Linked DNA regions of Homo sapiens: region 2 is linked to region 1. The links are contacts of gene promoters, found by promoter capture Hi-C in blood cells and fetal thymus (Javierre and others, 2016). All regions are on one chromosome and are shown on one strand. The core of a region is centred on a gene start or on the middle of the fragment in contact, and the rest is flanking DNA. Distances in the headings are between cores, read along the strand shown. Region 1 holds the start of CYP26C1 (cytochrome P450 family 26 subfamily C member 1). Region 2 overlaps CEP55 (centrosomal protein 55).

What was found. The method cuts DNA at HindIII sites, captures the fragments that hold promoters and counts their contacts. A CHiCAGO score of 5 or more calls a contact.
Region 2: a fragment that was not itself captured here is called in contact with the fragment with the promoter of CYP26C1 in region 1 in 4 of 17 cell types (endothelial precursors, M2 macrophages, M1 macrophages and 1 more); the score reaches 10.5 in endothelial precursors.

What each region holds. Positions count from the first base shown.
Region 1 is chr10:93,058,139-93,063,034 of GRCh38, forward strand. CYP26C1 (cytochrome P450 family 26 subfamily C member 1) reads left to right here and starts at 2,660. Exons shown (of 6, transcript NM_183374.3): 1 at 2,660-3,329; 2 at 3,872-4,096; 3 at 4,582-4,857. The coding sequence starts at 3,126. EXOC6 (exocyst complex component 6) reads left to right here. Exons shown (of 22, transcript NM_019053.6): 22 at 85-1,352. The coding sequence ends at 217. RefSeq lists enhancers at 2,678-3,587, 4,541-4,660, 4,671-4,840. The HindIII fragment of the contact is 6,240 bases long and covers 58-4,896 here.
Region 2 is chr10:93,510,274-93,514,913 of GRCh38, forward strand. The region is part of intron 4 of CEP55 (centrosomal protein 55); the gene reads left to right. It also overlaps the pseudogene RNA5SP323. Among named protein-coding and RNA genes, the nearest start is that of CEP55, 16 kb to the left of the region's middle. RefSeq lists a silencer at 1,079-1,373. The HindIII fragment of the contact is 3,350 bases long and covers 1-3,087 here.

The DNA of each region.
Region 1 (4,896 bases), core at 1,410-3,909:
CAGAGCATGCCAAGATATTTTACTTGTGACAGCTTAGCTTTTAATTTTCTTTTACCAAGCTTCTTCATTCACATATGTTTCTAGGATGAAGGATACTAGCAAAAAGAACAATATATTTGCTCAGTTCAGGAAGAATGATCGAGACAAACAGAAGTTGATAGAGACAGTCGTGAAACAGCTGAGAAGTTTGGTGAATGGTATGTCCCAGCACATGTAGACCTCACATGGCTTGCACTCAGTGACACCAAATCCATGATTCAATGTTGATCTTGAGCAAGTATTGGTCATGATACAGTAATTTGTTTACAGAATCCAAAAATACAATAGAGAAGATACATGAGGGCTTAAACAAGAAATAGTAATAAATATCATTTGTATGGATTTTTAAATAATCGAATACTATTTTATATATGGAAAAAAATGACCATTTTTTCACTTTTAGGGGAAAATGCAAAAGTGTAATACATAAATTGTCACAAATTATACATGAAATTGATTACAAATACATTTGAAAAACATATGCCTCTACTCATAAGTATTTTTTTCTATTTAGACTTGAATGATAATCTGTTTTTTGATCAGTATATGGCTTTGGAATTCAATCATGTCTGATATGGTAGTATTTCACTACCATTTTCTGACTTTTAGCTTTTATTTTCACCTCAATGTGATTTAAGCAGACCAAAATTTCTAATTCTGCTAATTCTGAAGGGGAAATAGACAAATCTTAAAAGCTGCCTGAAATCAAACTTGATTTAACTCAGTAAGAATGTGAATTATTTGTTCTACTTGGGTGGTTTAATTTAATCGTTCTGAATATGAACAAAAGGTTTTGGATTTTCTAAAGATGCAGTGTTGTTTCTGTTCATCAGGGTTAATATTTCTAACTATATTGCTTGTAGGTGACCCCATTCTGGATTTGTTTGGTTTGGTTTGGTTCCAGTTAAAAGAGAGGACAGGAACTAAATGGGGCTAACCACTTCAGGTGCAGCTTGTGCGAGGGTAGATGGTTCCTGCACACAGAAGTTACCACAGGGGTCAGGTTACTTTCTTCAAATAGCAGATTTCAGTACTTTATCCTCATTGTGGAAACAAGCCAAACCAAATGAACTCTGGAAAACCTAAAACAAATGTACATTTTCCTTTGTGTATGTTTCCGTGGTCCAAATGGCAATATAAATCCAGTCTTTATTCTCCCTTTGTTGTATTTATGCTGAATCTTCCCTTTGCCTTTTCAGGATTTAGGCCTGTAAGAAACTATGCCTGATTCTGTAAAATAAGTGTAAAGAATTATATGTACATCTCTGGATTTTGTGATGAAATATTAAAAATATTGAGCAAGTTGTTGAAAATGCATTACTATTTTGTCTATTCAGAGCTTACTGATTTAAAACAAGTGCTTCCTGGAGAAAAGGCATATTATTTCCTAGTTACTGGAATGGGAGTGGCACCAAAACAGTATATATACATACACACACACACACACACACATATATATACATATGCGCACTTGTTCTCTCGATCATCTCTTAATCCAAAGTATTTAATGTTTTTAAAAATATTACATGAAAAGCATGGTAGTTCTTCAGGCACGGTGAAATCTGGAGGAGAGGAGCGGTGAACAGCTAGCTCTCTTTGAAGACTGGAATGGGGCTGCCCTTCGCGCCTTACCCAGCCTTCCAGCGTACTTGGGGTGTCTTCCCTGCTTTGGCTGAGACGTCCCGGGATTCAGAGAGATACTGCCTTTGCACTGCCTGGAGGAGACCACTGTGGGACCTCTTTACTCTTACCAATAATATAAACACCCTGCACCCCTCCACACACACCCCAGGTTGCACTGTAGGGACAAGAACGAGTGAGTCCTGAGGCATTTGGAACCCTTGAATGGGACGCACAAAGCCCAAAACGCAACAATGTAGATTGACAAGAGTCGTCGGGCAAACTCGGGGGAGGGAGGGAAGGATGTGCAGGGAAGGATGAATTCGGTCCTTGAGACCGGAAAGGTGCTCGTGGGTATCCGCTTCTGGAGGCTTAGGACGTCTTTATGAAGCCTAGGGCAGTAGTGGAACTGCCATCTTTGGAAGGATACCTGACGTGGTAGATCAGAGAGCCGGGAGAGGTGGGGAGCTGTCGGAGAATCTCGGCTGCGCTATCCCTCCTGGGCTTTTGCGATGCCAACGCAGGCGTCGACGACTGCAGTTTCCCTGAAATAGTCGGAGCAAAGGAGAGAAAAGCCCAGTTCTTTCACCTTGGAGTGGCGAGAGAAAGGCACCTAGAAGCTCGAGGGCGGGGACGGCAGAGGGAGCCAGCGGCCGGGGGTGGGCCAGGAGCACTGCGGGGCGCAAGCCCGGGTCAGTTCTGCGCGTTGGGTTCGCCCACTTTCTGAGCGCCTGCGAAGAGCGGGGAAGCTCTGGCGCGAACCCGCAGGCCCCGCCCGAGGACGCTCGCGGGGCGAGCCCCCAGCCCAGCTCGAGCCGCCCCGGCGCCTGCCACTCCCTACTCAGAGCCCCTCCGTGAGCGCGCCGCTGCCCACCGCCTCCAATCACCACTCTGCGTGGAGCGCTTTAAATATGCAAAGACACGTCACGTTGTGTGAACCGGGATCGGTCCGTAGGGGGGGAGCCAATATCTATATAAACGTGTCCAGCGTGGGCCAAGAAGGGTTAAACGACTGGAGGAGGGACAGGTGGGGCGGGGGTCTGCAGACCAGGTTGGCAACACTGGTGAGTTGCTCTTCTTTCGCCCTCCTTCCCTTCTTCTATCCAAAGGGTGCTGAGCCCGGGAGGAGGTGGGAGGTGCCCCGCGGAGCCGGGAGTGAGCGTTCCCGAGGCAGCAGGCACCTTCGAGAGGGACTGGCATTTGGGCCCAGGAGCCAGGAAAAAGTCCTGAGCGTGCCGGCCTCGAGGAAGGCACGTTCCCTAAGGGCGCACGGTCACTGCAGTCTTTCACCGTCCGTCTGTTTTTAGAACAGAGTTCTGGCCTGAGCTTATAAATCTCGGGCTTTGCCCCCAAACCCCAGGCCTTTTGCGGACGGAACAGGTGAGCACTGCGCACTGCTCGCGCCCCGGTTCTTGCGTCCCCTGCTCTCCCTGCGCTCTGAGCGGCCTGGCCCCCGCGGGCTCATCATGTTCCCTTGGGGGCTGAGCTGCCTGTCAGTGCTGGGGGCGGCGGGCACTGCTCTCCTGTGCGCGGGCCTGCTGCTCAGCCTGGCCCAGCACCTCTGGACCCTCCGCTGGATGCTGAGCCGGGACCGGGCCTCCACCCTGCCTCTGCCCAAGGGCTCCATGGGGTGGCCCTTCTTCGGCGAAACGCTGCACTGGTTAGTTCAGGTGAGCAGTCCTTCGACCCCGAGCGCTAATACGGTCCCTTCTTCCCCCGGCTCCCACTGGACCCTCCTCAGTCTCAATGCCCATGGGATTTGTAGCCAGTCCCTGCCCATCGCCCACGACCCCGGGAAGCGCGCACAACTCTCGCCTTTACCTAGATACTCCGTTCCCTCGAAGGGACCTCAAGTCACTGGAATTCCCCCCAGAGCAACTCCCAGACACAACGCAGGGGGTAAACATAAGGGGTTTTAGGAAGGGGTCTGAGGAGCACGTCCTGCAAGGGTAGAAAAGGAGCCTGGAGCTTGGCCCAGCTGTGAGCCCTTGGGCCCTCACTTCTTCACTCTGAGTCTGTTTCCTCATCTCACCAATAGGAACAGGAGCATGTACATTCCCGTAGAGTAGATACCAGGCCCACTGGGGATCTTGTTTTGTAAACGCGCCAGCCAGGGACAGGAAGTTGTGATCAAAAGGCAGCTGGAAGGTCTGGGTCAGATCCCAGCCCAGGCCCAGAAGTTCCAGCTCTCCACCCTCCGCCTCGCCCGCAGGGCTCGCGCTTCCACAGTTCTCGCCGAGAGCGCTATGGGACAGTGTTCAAGACGCACCTGCTGGGCAGGCCAGTGATCCGCGTGAGCGGCGCGGAGAACGTGCGCACCATCCTGCTGGGCGAGCACCGCCTGGTGCGCAGCCAGTGGCCGCAGAGTGCGCACATCCTGCTGGGCTCGCACACACTGCTAGGTGCGGTCGGCGAGCCGCACCGGCGGCGGCGCAAGGTGAGTGGAAACGGGAATGGACCGTAGATACGTCGGATCCGCGGTCCCCGGCATCTGCCATGGGCCAGGCCGGGGCCCCGGTGTTGGATACACTGTGAACCCGACCAAGGTCCCTGGTAACTAGCGGGTGGCCTTGGGCGGGTCCGTTACCTTCAGCTTCGGTTTATAAAGTTAGGACTGCGCTAAAAGATTCTTTCATCTCCCATCTTCCGTGGCTGTGATAGCAGAAGCGCTGGAGACTCAGACCTAGAAAGGGGCCAGGGAAGACTTCTTAGAGGAGATGGCAGCTGGAGCCTGGATGGTTGGGAGGGACTGTGTGCATCAGAGCAGAACTGGGGGAAATGGCGAAAGCAAAAGCCAGGAAGTTTAGGTCTGGGCCGCTTGGAAGAGGGAGAAAGGACCGGAACTGGCCTTCTGGCTACTCCGGAATCGCCAAGCAGATGAGGCCAGACCGCCGCCAGCGCTGATCACGCGCGCTCCCACAGGTCCTGGCGCGCGTGTTCAGCCGCGCCGCGCTGGAGCGCTACGTGCCGCGCCTGCAGGGGGCGCTGCGGCATGAGGTGCGCTCCTGGTGCGCGGCGGGCGGGCCGGTCTCAGTCTACGACGCCTCCAAAGCGCTCACCTTCCGCATGGCCGCGCGCATCCTGCTGGGGTTGCGGCTGGACGAGGCGCAGTGCGCCACGCTGGCCCGGACCTTCGAGCAGCTCGTGGAGAACCTCTTCTCACTGCCTCTGGACGTTCCCTTCAGTGGCCTACGCAAGGTACGGCCGCCCCGGCTCCAGACCTTCCTCCGAGGCTCC
Region 2 (4,640 bases), core at 163-2,662, 450 kb after region 1:
TTCAAATATCCGAATTTTAAGCATAGAACTTAGGGAAGATAAATAATAATTGTTTTAAAATTATTTTGTCTGCAAACATTCAAATTAACAGAAAAGTTACAAGAATGAGTATGATAACATATAATAACATATAACGCCCATATCCCCTTTACTAAAATTCAACCGTTGTTAACATGTTACCCCATTTTGCACTCTGTTTTTCCTCTTTCAACCCTCACCCACACACATATACATGTAGTATTTTTTTCTGAACCATTTGAGAATGAATTGTACATATCCACAGCCGTTTAAACCCATATACTTCAATGTGTGTTTGTTCTCCCATCCAAGTACTAAACAGACTCAACGCTGCTTAGCTTCCAAGATCAGCCAAGATCAGGCGCGTTCAGGGTGGTATGGCCGTAGACTTCAATGTGTATTTCTTAAGAACGAGGATACTCTTGCCCACAACTATAGCACAGATAGCAACTTTAATAAATTTAACATGGATACAATACTTCTATAATCTACCATTCCTACTGCAGTTTTGTCAATTGACCCACATTTTTTATTCCTCCAGTATAGGCTAACATTTTAATCTACGTTGGTTGGAATTTTTGTCTACAGAATATTTAGTGGATTCTTGTCAAACCTGGGCGAAGACCTTTATAGCATTCCACAGGACTTTTTTTTTTTTTTTTTTTGAGACAGAGTCTCACTCTGTCGCCGAGGCTGTAGTGCAGTGGCACGGTCTCAGCTCACTGCAACCTCTGCCTCCCTGGTTCAAGCGATTCTTCTGCCTCAGCCTCCAGAGTAGCTGGGATTACAGGCACCTGCCATTGCGCCTGGCTAATTTTTTTTTATTTTTAGTAGAGACGGGGTTTCACCATGTTGGCCAGGCTGGTCTTGAACTCCTGACCTCGTGATCTGCCTGCCTCAGCCTCCCAAAGTGCTGGGATTACAGGCGTGAGCCACCATGCCCGGACTCCACAGGACATGTTATTTTGCCCACTTTTGTTCTACATTTTTATTGGTAACTTGGAGGAAATTGTTAAATGCATGCCTAACAAACGTATAGATGACACAAAGCTGGAAGGCATATCTAATGCAATGATGTTTGACTCTAAAAACTCAAAACTAATACAATCAATATTTATGATAGCTATCAACTCCGTGTATTGATACTGATAGAAAGCCGATGCACACAGTGAGAAGAGGTGGCATAAGGAAATGTTTATTGAGGGAACATCGCCATCATGTGGCCTTTTAGAATACTACCCCTTGAATCTTCAACTAACATGTATTTTTGTTTCTCATACTTAAGTGATGTATGGTTCCTTTTTTTTTAATTAATTAATTTATTTTTTTGAGATGGAGTTTCGCTCCGTTGCCCAGGCTGGAGTGCAGTGGCACAATCTCAACTCACTGCAACCTCCACCTCCTGGGCTCAAGTGATTCTCTTGCCTCAGCGTCCGGAGTAGCTGGGACCACTGGCGCCCGCCACCATACCTGGCTAATGTTTTGTATTTTTAGTAGAGACGGGGTTTCACCATATTGGCCAGGCTGGTCTCGAACTCCTGACCTTGTGATATGCCCGCCTCGGCCTCCCAAAGTGCTGGGATTACAGGCGTGAGCCACTGCACCCAGCTGGTTCCTTTAAAAGAAAAGAAAAATAAAATAAATAAAATAAAATTGGGCTGGCGCAGTGGCTCACGTCTGTAATTCCAGCATTTTGGGAGGACAAGAAGGGCAGATCACCTGAGATCAGGAGTTCGAGACCAGCTGGGCCAACATGGTGATACCCCGTCTCTAATAAAAATACAAAAAAGCTGGGCGTGGTGGTACACGCCTGTAATCCCAGCTACTCGGGAGGCTGAGGCAGGAGAATTGCTGGAACCCGGGAGGCAGAGTTTCCAGTGAGCTGAAATCATGCCACTGTATTCCAGCCGGGGCCACAGAGCGAGACTCCGTTTCAAAAAAAAAAAAAATTGGCCGGGCTCAGTGGCTCATGCCTGCAATCCCAGCACTTTGGGAGGCCAAGGCGGGCAGATCACCTGAGGTCAGGAGTTGAGACCAACATGGTGAAACCCCATCTCTACTAAAAATACAAAATTAGCTGGGTGTGGTGGCGCATGCCTGTAATCCCAGCTACTCGGGAGGCTGAGGCAAGAGAATCGCTTGAACCCGGGAGGTGGAGGTTGCAGTGAGCCAAGATGGCACCATTGCACTCCAGCCTGGGCAACAAGAGTGAAACTCCGTCTCAAAAAAAAAAAAAAAAAAAAAAATTTCATGACCATTTAATTTTGACTTAAATTATTTGTATTAAAATACTACTTAAATGTGGACAAATGTAAAATTTAGTATAAAATTAGGTATCTTTAGTATCTAACACACTATAATTTATAGGTATTTGGATATACATGTGCATTGTGAGTCATACAGTGCTTCCTCTCTTATCAAGTAAATTTAAATCTGATCCTGGGTTTCTCATGAGTCCTTTCTTTTGAAAGATGCATAGGTTCTGAGTAAGAACCTCACTGGGGATGGCAGTGGAGCTGAATAAGAGAGTGACTACTGCAGCCTGTTTTAAGATAGGCCAAGAATCCTAGCAATCTTCTCAACTGTACTAAGTTCACTGATTATTTTTCCCAACTTTTATGATTATTTTTCCCAATTTTTATTACGAAAAATGTCAAACATACACAAAAGTTAAAAGAAAATACATTGAACAATCATATATCTACCACGAAGTTTCAATAAGACAGACTCTTTAAATCAAAAATCAAATTACTACAGTGAAAACAGCCATCCACAGAGCTTTACACTATTGACGATATATAATACAAAATGGATATACAATATCTCCACTTGACAAATGGACTCTTAAGCCATGTAAAGAGGACTACTGTTCCCTAATGGATGCAGAGAGAAAAGTGTCTGGTAAAGTGGCTGAGGCTCCTGGGCTAAGTCTTTGATTTTAGAGACTGTTTCTGTCTTCCTAATTCATTTGCTAATTCTATAGCAAACAGACACTGAAAATCCTTTAAGTGCCATACCCAGGAGCTTTGCTCAAGAGTTTGTAGGGTGCTAGTAGAAAGAGCCTAACAAAGCTTAGAGAAACTCTCTAGACTTAATAAGAGTTTCCATACATGTAGATCTTTCTGGATATGGGACTCAATCAATGTCTTTAAAGGATGGAAATTCTTACCGGAAAGCAGTTGCCCTGATAGACACCCAAAACCTTTAAGCTCCTTATGTCCTCTTCATTGTGGAACTAGAGGTCTGGAAAGAGTGGCTGCTATAAAAGGAAACACTATATTGTATTGTCAGATTGAAATTAAATAGAAGAATTTTATCTATGCATAATAGATCATTTTAAGAGCTACTGTGTTGTTCTCCAAATAGTAATCAGAAATCTGTATTCCACTCTTGAAAAAATGAGCTTTGCTGATACTGTTATAGGTTCTTCGAAGTTCAGATTACTATGAGCTCTGGATTTATAGCAAGTCCTCTGGTGTGAAATGAACTGGTTACAATCCCTGCCATACAAAGCTTCTGTCTTCACATGGCCTCATTCTCTATGTATATCTGTGTGTCTGCTCCTTTTTATAAGGATACTAGTCATTGGATTTAGGGCTCACCCTACTCCAGTATGGCCTCATTTTAACTAATTGCATCTGCAAAGCCTCCCCCTCCCCTTTTTTTTTTTTGAGACGGGGTCTCACTCTATTGTCTAGGTTGGAGTGCAGTGGCGCAATCTTGGCTCACTGCAACCTCCGCCTCCCGCATTCAAGTGATCTGCTACCTCAGCCTCCCAAGTAGCTGGGACTGCAGGTACGTGCCACCATGCCCGGCTAAAAAATAGAGACAGGGTTTTGCCATGTTGGCCAGGCTGGTCTTGAACTCCTGGCCTCAAGTAATCCGCCCGCCTCGGCCTCCCAAAGTGCTGGGATTACAGGTGTGAGCCACTGCCCAGCCCACAGACCCCATTTCTGAATAAGGTCATATTCTGAGGTTTCAAGTGGACATGAATTTTGGGGGACATTATTCAACTCACTGTAAGTATGAAACCCCTATACAAACAGGTGAGTGACGGCAGCTTGGAGTTTTTAATTGGGTTATAAAAGATCATATAAAGGATGAAAGTTGGTAGTAAAGAGAGAAGGTAGCTGTTAAGTTTGATCCTCTAAAGAAGACACTGAGATGATGTTAGGAGTGCAGACGGTTTATTGGGGAGCAAGATCTGTGCAAGGAAAAAGGAAGTAGTTATGCCAGGGAGACCATCAGACCATGATGAAAACCTAACAAGGTCTCTGTCACCCCATGGGGGGCTCCAGAGCAGAGAGTGCTGAAAAGCAGAGTCCTCGTTGGGCAGCAATAGTTAGGCACTTGTTCAGTTGTTGGCTGGGGCCAATCCAGCTCAGCTCAAAAGCTGACAGGGACTTGAAGGAATTAACAGATGGAGGCTGTCAGCTAATCAGCTAATCACTCACCATGCAGCTGGGCAGAGATCCTCTTTTTTTTGTTTGTTTTTTTGAGAGACGCAGTTTCACTGGAGTTTCCAGGCTGGAGTGCAGGGGCATGATCTCAGCTCACTGCCACCTCCACCTCCCGGGTTCAAGTGATTCTCCTGCCTCAGCCTCCTGAGTAGTTAGGATTAC